Linked DNA regions of Homo sapiens: all the other regions are linked to region 4. Evidence: promoter capture Hi-C in 16 types of primary human blood cells and fetal thymus (Javierre and others, 2016). All regions are on one chromosome and are shown on one strand. The core of a region is centred on a gene start or on the middle of the fragment in contact, and the rest is flanking DNA. Distances in the headings are between cores, read along the strand shown.

Region 1 (2,700 bases), core at 12-2,511, 650 kb before region 4:
ACAAAAGTCTGTTCAGATATGTTATTCCACTTGGTGTTCATCCATATTCAGTCATCTCAGGACTTTAAAATAAATAAAAGTCACAGGCTCTGCATGCTTCTTTCCAGAAAGTAGAATCTGTATTCTTTAGATGCTGGCTGAAAGGGCTAATTTCAATGAGTACCCCAAAAAAGAAAGCATTTTATTGCCTCATGAACATTATAATTACTTGTTTACACGAATATGTTTTATTCATTTAACCATCTCCCAACCATACTAGCAGAATAACTACTTTAAGAAAATACCTAGTAAAACTGTTGAAAAAAATGAGCCATCAATGGATTTGTCCTTAAGCGACTCTAGCCATCTCTGTGTTGAATTTTCACGGTTTGAAGCAGCAACTGCAGAAAAGAGGGCATCTGCCTCAGTCATTGATCAGCTGGCATGCTCTCCATGCAGGCAGAGGTTCACCATTACTTCTGTTGCGAAATGTCCCCAACAACACCGTAAAGCCAGTCACTTCTTCAATTTACTGAGTTAAGCTGATCATGGTGGTGAGTGCTTATAGTCCCAGCTAATCAAGGTGCTGAGGCAGTGGGACCACTTGAGCTCCAGAGTTCAAACCCAGGCTAAGCAAAACCCCTGTCTCTTAAAAAAAAGATATATATATATATTTTAACTGTATATATATAGTTTTGTATACATATATAAAACTAAAAGAAAAAAGTAAAACAAGAAAAAATTTACTGAGTTACTACACAGTTAAGAACACATAAAAGGTGACCTCAAAATGTGGATATTCACATCTGTCATCCTACTTTTCATTGAATATTTAAGCAATAAAGTGTAATGATTTGAAATATATGCATTAAATTGAGAAGCATTGTTAATGTACCAGGGAAGGCAGGAGAATATTTTAATGAATTTGAAATGGCTAAAAGGAAGCTTTGGGTCCTCAAGGAAAGATGAATTTTAAGCAATTTCTCACAGTGTGAATCGTTTATAAGTGATGCATTTTGATGCAGAGGAAGTGAAGTTCCCAGAATAAAACCACAAATCTCCAAGAATACCCTTAGTCACCAACATATTGCTTCTTTCTCAAAAGGCAAAAATCTAGCACTTTGCTGTAGCCAGATCATGTACCACACATGAAAAATGCATGTATATGTTACACCTCATCTCCAAACTTACCTATGGTTATTTGTATCTTATACAAATTACAGTTTCCCTGACATATATCTAAAATATGGAAAACTCTTCAACTCCTTGGAAATACATTTTTCTTATAATTAGACATTTCTTTTGTCCATTAATAGCAAGAGCGTCTTGTCAAGGATCATGGAAGCAGAACTGATTCAAGATTAAAAAGATCCGTAAAAGTCACATGAGATGTAATTCTTAGAACCAGTATAGAGTTTTATCACCAGCTGCTAGGAAAAGTCAGTTCAAATATGGAATGGTTCAAATATGTTATTCTACTTGGTGTTCGTCCATACCCAGTAATCTCAGTATTTTAAAATAAATAAGTCATAGGATCTGCGTGCTTGTTTCCAGAAAGTAGGATTTGTATCCTTTAGATGTTGGCTGAAAGGACTAATTTCAATGAGTACCCAAAAAAAGAAAGCTTTTTATTGCCTCATGAGTATTATAATTACTTGTTTACATGGATATGTTTTATTCATTTAACCATCTCCCAAGCATATTCACGGAAGCAGAACTGATTCATTCAAAAGAAAAAGCCAATTTGGGATGGGGGTAGTGGGAGGAGATCTCTTCAGATCTCTCAGTTTTAAAGTCTCTGATGGTTGGATATTTGTAGTTTTTCACTGATTTTTCTCTCTGCATAAAGAGCTAATAGCTCATTGTCTATAAATATTTTCCAACATTTTGTTTTCCAAAATGGACTCATTTCTACATAAAGACGTCATGGAAAGATGGTTTTTCTTCCTGAAGGGTTAGGTCAGCCCTGGGAAGAAGTATAGACCTTGGCTCCTGTTATTCCTCTTTAGATATCCCAGGGTTCCAACAGGAAGTTACAAGATACCTGCACTACCTGTAAAGTTTATTTAAAATGATTGGAAGGCTCTCATAAGCATTGGAGGGGAAGAAAAACTTTTTTTCTACCCTCTTAGGTGAAGTGCCTAGGAGCCTGTGAATTAAACTTACAGCAGACAGACTAGCAGGAGAAAAAGCTTACAAAGTTATTTATTTTAAATTTTGCTTGCACAAGGGTGTCATAGAAAGAAATGAATACCCCAAGGAGTGATGAGATTTGATTTTCTGTATCATTTTACTACAGGAAAGGGAGGTGGAGAAAAGGCAATATTGAGAGAGCAAATGACTTCTTTAAAAAAAAAAAAAAAAGATAAATGGGTCCTTAGGAGAATAGATGGGAGATATGACAGTTTGTGACAATGTCTAGAAGAGAAGAAAGAGTTGCTCCCAGTGGGAGGAATTTGTGACAGCTGAGTTCTTTTGGGAACCTCTGCTTTTAGTCAGATAAAGGATTTCGGGAACTCAAATGCCTTCAGCTCAAAATAACTCTTATGGGCTGGGTAGGGTGGCTCATGCCTGTAATTCCAGCACTTTTGGAGGCCGAGGCAGGAGGACTGCTTGAACCCAGGAGCTCAAGACCAGCCCAGGCAACATAGCAAGACCTCGTCTCTACTAAAAATAATAATTTTTAAAAATTAGCCAGGCGTGGTAGTGCATGCCTGTAGT
Region 2 (2,700 bases), core at 77-2,576, 620 kb before region 4:
AGGGAAGTTAAAGTTTCATTTATATATAGTCAGAGACCAGGGAGTTTTTAGCAGGATTACAACATTTTTCTGACAAAGTTGGCACACAATTGCAGCAATTTGATTGGTTGTATAGGCTGTGTTTCTTTTTGGGAAGGATACATATAACATTTGTTACAGAGGGTATAGTGGTTATGGGTTTTCTGTCAACTGGCCTAAGCAAAGCAGGACAAGAAAGGGGAAGTTAATCTGTAACAAGGGTCATTAAGATGGCAGCAGGTTTTTGTCCCTGTTGTTGTTTGAGTCTCTCTAGTCACTGTACAGAACAAGAACAATAAGAAACAAGTTGTTCTATAATCTGAGAAACAGAAGTCACAACCCTGTGTGGCTCAGATCACAATCACATCTCTCTCAAGGCTTAAAGTGTCTTCAGGGTTCCAACAGGTTTTAAATCATATTTATTTTCACACTGGGTACATTGTGGACCGCTAAGTCCTTTGAGAGTAAGAAGCATGTCTTCTGCATTTTGTGTCACCCATCCATGAGAGAAAGGTTTTATATAAAATGAGTAAATTTTTGAGTGGTATAAGATTAAGTAAATTTTAGATCTATGGAAAAGGCACTTACGTGAAATTCTCTGATGATACTGAACAAATTGCATTGTTGTCTTGGTCCAGTCAACAGGCATCTTTTTGATCCTTTGAGGTACCAAGCAGGTTTTACCCTTAGGGCATCTGACCTAGCTGTTACCTCTCCCTGGAAATCTCTTTTATTCTGGAATGTCACATAGCAACTCCTTCTTAAGGCCAAGTGCACTGACCCATCTTAGAGAGGCTTTCTGCAACTTCTCAGACCATTGTTGGTTTTGCATGGTGACAAAGCCTGTCTCCAGTCACTCCATCACAGTGCCCTGTTCGCGCTATCACAGCCAGGCCAGTTGTTGCCCACTTGCTCATCATATGCATCTCTTAAGCTTCAGGAGAGCAGAGGCCCTGTCTGCTCTGATAATCATTGTATCTCCAGGACCTAGAATAGTGCTGAGCTCACAGTAATGCCCCTTACATCATACTATATTATTTAAAATCAGTGGGTTTTGACATTGGCTGCCCATCAGTGTCACCAGTGGGGATTAACAAAACACAGATGTGCAAGGTTAACCTCAAAGATTCTAATTCAGTAGGACTTGAGTGATGCCCTTAAATTTGGCTCTAAATGTATTAATCATCAAAGACTCAGGAAAACAAGGAAAGATAAGCTTTCTGTAGCTTCCAAAGTTGTAGCTGTTTTTAAAATTGTTTATATTTTCTTTTAAACTCTCATCCCATATCCTTAAGCCTTGTGACTGCCACAGAGAGAAAATAAGATCAAGCATGAGCTTACATTAGCCACAGAAACACCTGGGGCAGTTCCAAAGTTTTAATTACTGCTTCATTAATGTAAAAGCTTAACTATAGTTGTAATGTATAAACAACTTTTGGCATGTGCCCTGCAAATGCAAAAAAGTCTAAATAATTATTGTCGTGGCTCCTGTCTCAACGCAAGACCAATGATCGCCAAATTATTTTTAAGACATGGACTACATTAAAAAGTTATTGAATTATGTTTTCTGTTAGCTTATATAAAGCACATGACATTTAATAACTTGCAAAGAAATGCTTATTTTATCTGTAATATATACTTTGGTGTTTATCAGATTCTGTTCAAACTGTGTAGCAAATTTCCTTGAAAATAGAACTTTCTTTTTTCCTCACATCCCTGTATTTGATATCAGACTATTCTTAGACTCTCCACCTCACTCATCACCATGGTGTCTACGGACTTATAAGTATGACATGCTGTCACCCTTATTTATACATGAGGTATGGAGGTGAGCGTGAATAAGAATCTTGCTCAGAGCCAATTAGTTGCAGATCCAGCATTGGAATTCCTCTCCCATAGTATCAAAAGTGTAGTCATATTCCTAGATCATTAGGCAGGAAGAAAAAGAAAATAAAAGAAAAACTACTCAGAGACATCTGGCCGGATCTGTGCCTTTCATCAGAATAATCATGTCCTGAATCTCCCACTGGGGTTGTCAGAAAAGATTTTTCCCAAGCTTTTCTATACCACGGAGAGCTACATTTAATTTATAACCTGAAAGTATCCCCTAAAACAGACTCATAATCATGCTTGCTGAAATTTTAGCCCAGCCTTCTTGCTTGCTGAGAAAAGAGCTGGCTGTCCTTTCTCTTTGAATAAGCCTCCTTGTATGAACAGTCTCTAGAGATGTCCCTTTTCCAGATGAAAATCTGTTTTATGTGTTATCATGTTGACCTTCCAATCCCTTGAATGATTTTACGTTTTCATCTTGGTAGGTCTGTTCTCTCTATAATCTAATTTAATAGTTCTAATCTGCACATATCCACCACATATCTAGTTCAATATCAAGCAGGTATCCAGTGAGTTCACAAACTCAGAAGGGCAAGAAATATAACTTTTCTTATTTTTCGGCAACTCATTTTCACTTCTATTTTGAGTTCTTTTTCTACCAGGAGAATTTTAGGGAAATGTTTGCCCCCAGATCAAGAGACACTCTCCTCTTTCTGCTTGCTAGGCCCAAAAGAACAGACTCTTTTGAAAAGTGCAGAGTTTAGAACTCTAAGAGGAAGAACAGTCAGAAGGATTTTTTTTTAAGCAAAGTCTATTTTTCACCCAAGGTGGAATATAATATAAAGTACTAAT
Region 3 (2,700 bases), core at 48-2,547, 550 kb before region 4:
CCACAGCACACAAGTACTCAGTCTCTGTGCCCAATCTATAGCTGCCTGTTGAGTGTGAAGTGGCTAACTTGTGAAAACTCCCTGCCACCTTCTTTTTTTACCATATTCAGCACACCGCATTGTATTAGATAAAGTTATGGTACTTTAAACAAATATCTCCGTTCACCAACCAATTTCTGCACACCATAGTCTCAGCCTTATAATCTGAAAACACAATATTAGAATTGGATAGAAAAACAATCAAGAAAACTTGTGGTAATATCTTAAAGCTTCCAACACATTTTAGCTATTTATTTTATTCCATTCATCAAAATTCTGATTTCATTAGTTTGGTAAGAATCTTATGCACATCATCTCTATTCATCTAAAAGCTTTTCATTATTCACTCTGACCTAGAAGTGATATTCATAATGGCCATGGCATAAGTAGCATTTTTTATTTTTGTCATAAAATGTGTGTGAATAACTCAGATTAGATAAATCAAACACTTGTTGGTAGGTGGGCAGTCTTACCTAGTTTAGGCAGTGAGCCTACTCTTAGCTTCAGGAGCATCACTAAGAGCTGCCTGGTCCTCCCTCACCATGGGTGTGCAAGATCATCCTGATGGGACTGATTGCTGAGCTTCTCAATTACATCTAGTGAGGCTCAGTTCACAAGCAGTAGTTTAAAGTGTTTCACAAGTCCTAAAAAGTAATTGCACACAATGGACATAACCTTTTACTAACAAACCAAAATGACTTCAGGTCAACACCATGTGTGTATGAAAGGATACCTCCACAGAAAATGTACAGTTGACCCTTGAACAACAGGAGTTTGAACTGTGAGGGTCCACTTATGTGCAGATTTTCTTCTGCCTCTGGCACCCCTTGAAACAGTGATACCAACCTCTCCCCTTCTGCAGCCTACTCAACATGAAGACAATGAGGATAAAGACCTTTATCATCATCTGCTTCCACTTAATGAATAGTACATATATTATCTCTGTTGTTTTTCTTTTAACATTTTGTTTCCAGAGCTTACTTTATTGTAAGAATACCACATGTAATGCATATAACATAAAAATATGTGTTAATTGGCCATTTATGTTATCAACAAGGCTTATGGTCAACAGTAGCTGTTGGTAGTTAGGTTTAGGGGGTGTCCAAAGTTAGAATCAGATTTTTGTTTTATTTATTTATTTATTTTTTTGAGACTGAGTCTCACCCTGTTGCCCAGGTTGGAGTGCAGTGGTGCAATCTTGGCTCACTGCAACCTCTGCCTCCTGGGTTCAAGCAATTCTCTGCCTCAGCCTCCCGAGTAGCTGGGATTACAGGCACCTACCACCACGCCTGGCTAATTTTTGTATTTTTAGTAGAGACAGGATTTTACCATCTTGGCCAGGCTGGTCTTGAACTCCTGACCTTGTGATCCACCTGCCCTGGCCTCCCAAAGTGTTGGGATTACAGGCGTGAGCCACAACTCCCAACCTAGAATCGGATTTTTGACTGTGCAGGCCTAATCCCCGAGTGGCTCAGGCGTCAATTCTTTCAATTATCAAAAATTCTGATGCAATTGTGATTACAAAACAAACTAGCTTTTAAAAAAAGTAAGCCATTCTGAAATTTAACGATTTACCACATTTTAAACACAGTTGCTATGATGAACATATTTGTAAATTTACAGTGCTACTTTATCTCACAACTCACATCACATAAAGATTACAACTATTGGCTGGGCATGGTGGCTCATGCCTGTAATCCCAGAACTTTGGGAGGCCAAGGTGGGTGGATCAACTGAGGTCAGGAGTTCGAGACCAGCCTGGCCAACACGGTGAAACCCCGTCTTTACTAAAAATGCAAAAATTAGCTGTGCTTGATGGCACATCCCTGTAATCCCAGCTACTTGGGAGGCTGAGGTGGGAGAATCTCTCGAACCAGGGAGGCAGAGGCTGCAGTGAGCCGAGATCTTGCCACTGCCTTCCAGCCTGGGTGACAGAGAGATGAGACCCTGTCTCAAAAAAAGATTACAACTATTGGCAGGTCATTTTAGCAATGCAATCTGCATATCTTACTCTAAATTACACATTTTGTTAGAAATCTGTTCTTGAACCATAGCAAACAGAACAAAGTGCATGCTTTAGGATGTGTCTTCATGATATGCCATGCCGTTCACAGTGGCCAGTGTAGAGGGAACCCAGGGATCTACACGGCTCTTCTGTCACTGTTCATTGTTCCAAAATTACGTGTAAGCTTTAAAGTTGTTCAACATCAACCCCATCGTCCTCCTCTCACTTAGTATTCAATTTGAGTGGAAGTAGTGTGATAAAGGAAGATGGTGGTAAGGTTGAAAAGTGACTTAATATGAAATGTGAAACAACTTCTTCAAACCTAGCATTCAAATGTAATTTCAAACTATAACAATATTTGGCAAAATCTTATGGCTACTTTTGATAACTTCTAAGCATGGTAAAATTCTTTATGCTACATTTCTGCTTGACTTTCAGTTCACACCAGAGGGTATATTCATGTACACACACATTATATATATAATATATATAATACATATCCATCCATTATATATATATATAAATTAAAGCAAACCAAAAATGACAAAATCATGTCTTTCACAGAAATCATCCCATTTCACCTTTGAATGTGAAGACTGACAAATTGCTTAAATGAAAATGCTGAGTACAGAGATGCTTTTTTTTACAAAGCGCTT
Region 4 (2,700 bases), core at 121-2,620:
ATGGTTTTAATTTGTATTTCCTTAATGGTTAGTGAAGTTTAACATTTTCATGTGCTTATTATTAGCCATAGTGTATCTTCTTTAGTGGCATCTCCTTTCCTATCTTTTGCCCATTTTCTAATTGAATTGTTTAGGTTTTTACTGTTGAATTGTACACATTCTAGTCTTTTGTTGGATATGTGATTTGCAAATATTTTCTCCCGGACTGTAGTTTGTCTTTTCATCCAGTTAACAGAGTTGCAGAGCAAAAGGTTTTAATTTTGATGTGGTTCAATTTATCAGTTTCTCCTTTTATGAATTGTGCTTTTGGTCTGAATTCTAAGATCTCTTTGCCTAGCTGTATGTTCTGAAGATTCTCTCCTGTTTTTCTTTTCTGAAAATTTTATAGCATTATGTTTTATATTTAAGTCTGTGATCCATTTTGAATTTATTTGTGGATAAGATATGAGTTTAGGTCAAAATGGTGGTCATGCTTCTCCTCCCCTTCCTCCCCGTCTCCCTTCCTCACCTCCTCCCTTTCTTCCTGCTCCTCTTCCTGCTCCTCTTCCTCCTCTTCTTCCTCCTCCCCCTTCCCGCTTCTCCCCCTTCCTTCTTTCTCCCACCTCCTCCTTCCTCCTCCTCCTTACTTTCTTCTTCTTTCTTTTCTTTCTTCTTCACTTGCCCTACATAGTGATTTTAAGAGCTATAGTGCCTTCTCAGCCTGAATCCAAAGTGATTCCTGTAGTAAAGGTAACTGCCGGTTCATGAACAACCTGCTCAATGTTAACCTCTTCTTGTTCCTAAAATGTAGAGTCAGGGGAGCCCCTGAAACTGAGAATACAAACCAAAACTGTTCTGGAAGAGCAGCACAGTTTTTTCAACTCAGAAATGTAAAATTGTCTTGCTTATCATGACCTCTTCTGAAAAGTATTCTAAAAATGAAACAAAAAACGTATCCTAAAATGCTGAAATGTGATCTTGGGAGCATAGGGACAGTGGCACAAGGATGAAATCAGTGATGCTCTTAAGACAGTAAGACAACATGATTTGTAACTAGGAAATGAGAGAGATGGAGAGAGGAGAATGGAGAGAAGAGGGGGTAGGAGCAGGGAGAGAGAGAAAGAGACAGAGAGAGAAACACTGACTGACAAACCTGTAGTTTAGCTCTTACAATGCAGTGGAAGCCAGAAATGGTCAAGCTATTAAAAGCAAAAGGCAAACCAAAGAGAAAAGAACCCCCTTCAGCCTATAATCAGAAAAGAGCCATCCAAAGTTATACATCTTTTCAAATGCCTTCTGACTTAACTGTGGAATTACCATGTGGAACTAGCAACAGAACTTACTTGAAAGCTGGTTTCTGACAATGTAGAGCAGAGTTCTCTGGAGCAGCGTACTTAAGGGCAGTCCAAGCAAGATCTCTGGAGAGAAGGATAAAATGTCAGGCCAAGGGTGAGGCCAAACTGATGCAATCTCAGTTTTCTCTAAACTAAATTATACCACCTTACATAAATCTCAACTGGTGTTCTGAGGAAGTCAAAAGGAAGATTTACCCTGATGCTGTGCCTGCTGCCACAATTACATATCTGAAACCCTAAAAACTGCTTTTTAGCCTGCTTCCCCCTTCCACCTAGGAAAAACTAGGAACACCTAGTTTTTCCTCCTGAGTAGTTAAATAGCCAATGTTTTCTTTGTGTGCTATCTTATCATGTGGTTTCATAATCGTTGTGTGACTGTGTTTGATAAATAGTCCTTTGCCAAACCTGTTTTGTTGACGTTTCGCTCTTTAACATCAAAATAGAGTTTAAAATACCCTATTTTAATAATTTTGGATTGAAATTAGTGATTTGAGGGTCACCCAGTCTTTCCTTTCTTATAATTTATCTTGAAATATGCCTGTGTAACTCTAAATAGAGGGGTGGATTAATACTGCTACTAGATAGAGTAATTCTGGATAAGACCTGATGAATTTTTTGGATTTTCTGACCCTGGTCCAACTGGTTTTCAGGTGCTTCAGGATAGTTTTATAACAGTTGTTAAATCTAGATTGAATGATTTGTGAAACTTTTTCACAAATGGTTTTGCAAATAATTTATATATGCAAAATTAGTATATGTCTATATTAATTTCTTGATCCCTGACAGGTCTTGAAAACCAAATGAAAAACTGAATTACTAAAGCAAATTATACTTTCTGTACTATTTGTACTGTGTACAATTTATGCTATCCTCTGGGGTGACTATCATGTGTCATTTGTTACACCCCTGCTGACTCTTCCTTCCCCTTGTAGTTAGAATGCAAAATTTTCTTTAGTATTGCCATACAGGGCTGTCTTCTTACACACTTGCTTGACATTATTTGGCTTTTGTGATTTCCGAGTAGGTCCTTGTATGCCATTGGTTGAAGATTCTTTGAAAGCATTTTTTCAGGATCAAGCGTTGATTGAAGATATCCAAAATACATCTGTAGTTGAACCAAATGGTGTTTTGTGGGAGGTTTACTTTTCCCCTCTGATAAGGTGTGAGAGCCTGGGAGTAAACAGTGAGTAATATAGACGAAGACACAGACTGGGTGTTCATGTAGGTCCCTTGTTGGCTCCCACCTCCCCTATTCCCTGGTTGTCATGAAAAGCAGAACTGCTGCTCCCACCTCCGCTTTCCTCTTAACCCAGCCTTTCAGAGCAGCAGTAGGAGCCAGCACCACCTCTGTCATCATTCTCAGTGA

What was found. The method cuts DNA at HindIII sites, captures the fragments that hold promoters and counts their contacts. A CHiCAGO score of 5 or more calls a contact.
Region 1: a fragment that was not itself captured here is called in contact with the fragment with the promoter of NCOA7-AS1 in region 4 in 3 of 17 cell types (M2 macrophages, M0 macrophages and M1 macrophages); the score reaches 7.2 in M2 macrophages.
Region 2: a fragment that was not itself captured here is called in contact with the fragment with the promoter of NCOA7-AS1 in region 4 in 4 of 17 cell types (M1 macrophages, M2 macrophages, M0 macrophages and 1 more); the score reaches 13.8 in M1 macrophages.
Region 3: a fragment that was not itself captured here is called in contact with the fragment with the promoter of NCOA7-AS1 in region 4 in 7 of 17 cell types (fetal thymus, M1 macrophages, naive CD8 T cells and 4 more); the score reaches 5.8 in fetal thymus.

Annotation. Positions count from the first base shown.
Region 1 is chr6:125,164,447-125,167,146 of GRCh38, forward strand. All of the region lies in intron 1 of TPD52L1 (TPD52 like 1), which reads left to right. Among named protein-coding and RNA genes, the nearest start is that of TPD52L1, 12 kb to the left of the region's middle. The HindIII fragment of the contact is 679 bases long and covers 923-1,601 here.
Region 2 is chr6:125,194,972-125,197,671 of GRCh38, forward strand. The region is part of intron 1 of TPD52L1 (TPD52 like 1); the gene reads left to right. All of the region lies in intron 1 of LOC100126584 (a long non-coding RNA gene), which reads right to left. Among named protein-coding and RNA genes, the nearest start is that of TPD52L1, 43 kb to the left of the region's middle. The HindIII fragment of the contact is 188 bases long and covers 1,233-1,420 here.
Region 3 is chr6:125,264,670-125,267,369 of GRCh38, forward strand. No RefSeq gene overlaps it. Among named protein-coding and RNA genes, the nearest start is that of HDDC2, 36 kb to the right of the region's middle. The HindIII fragment of the contact is 1,857 bases long and covers 370-2,226 here.
Region 4 is chr6:125,817,488-125,820,187 of GRCh38, forward strand. NCOA7-AS1 (NCOA7 antisense RNA 1) reads right to left here and starts at 1,371. Exons shown (of 3, transcript NR_126386.1): 1 at 1,323-1,371. All of the region lies in intron 2 of NCOA7 (nuclear receptor coactivator 7), which reads left to right. RefSeq lists an enhancer at 596-1,097. The HindIII fragment of the contact is 4,548 bases long and covers 1-2,700 here.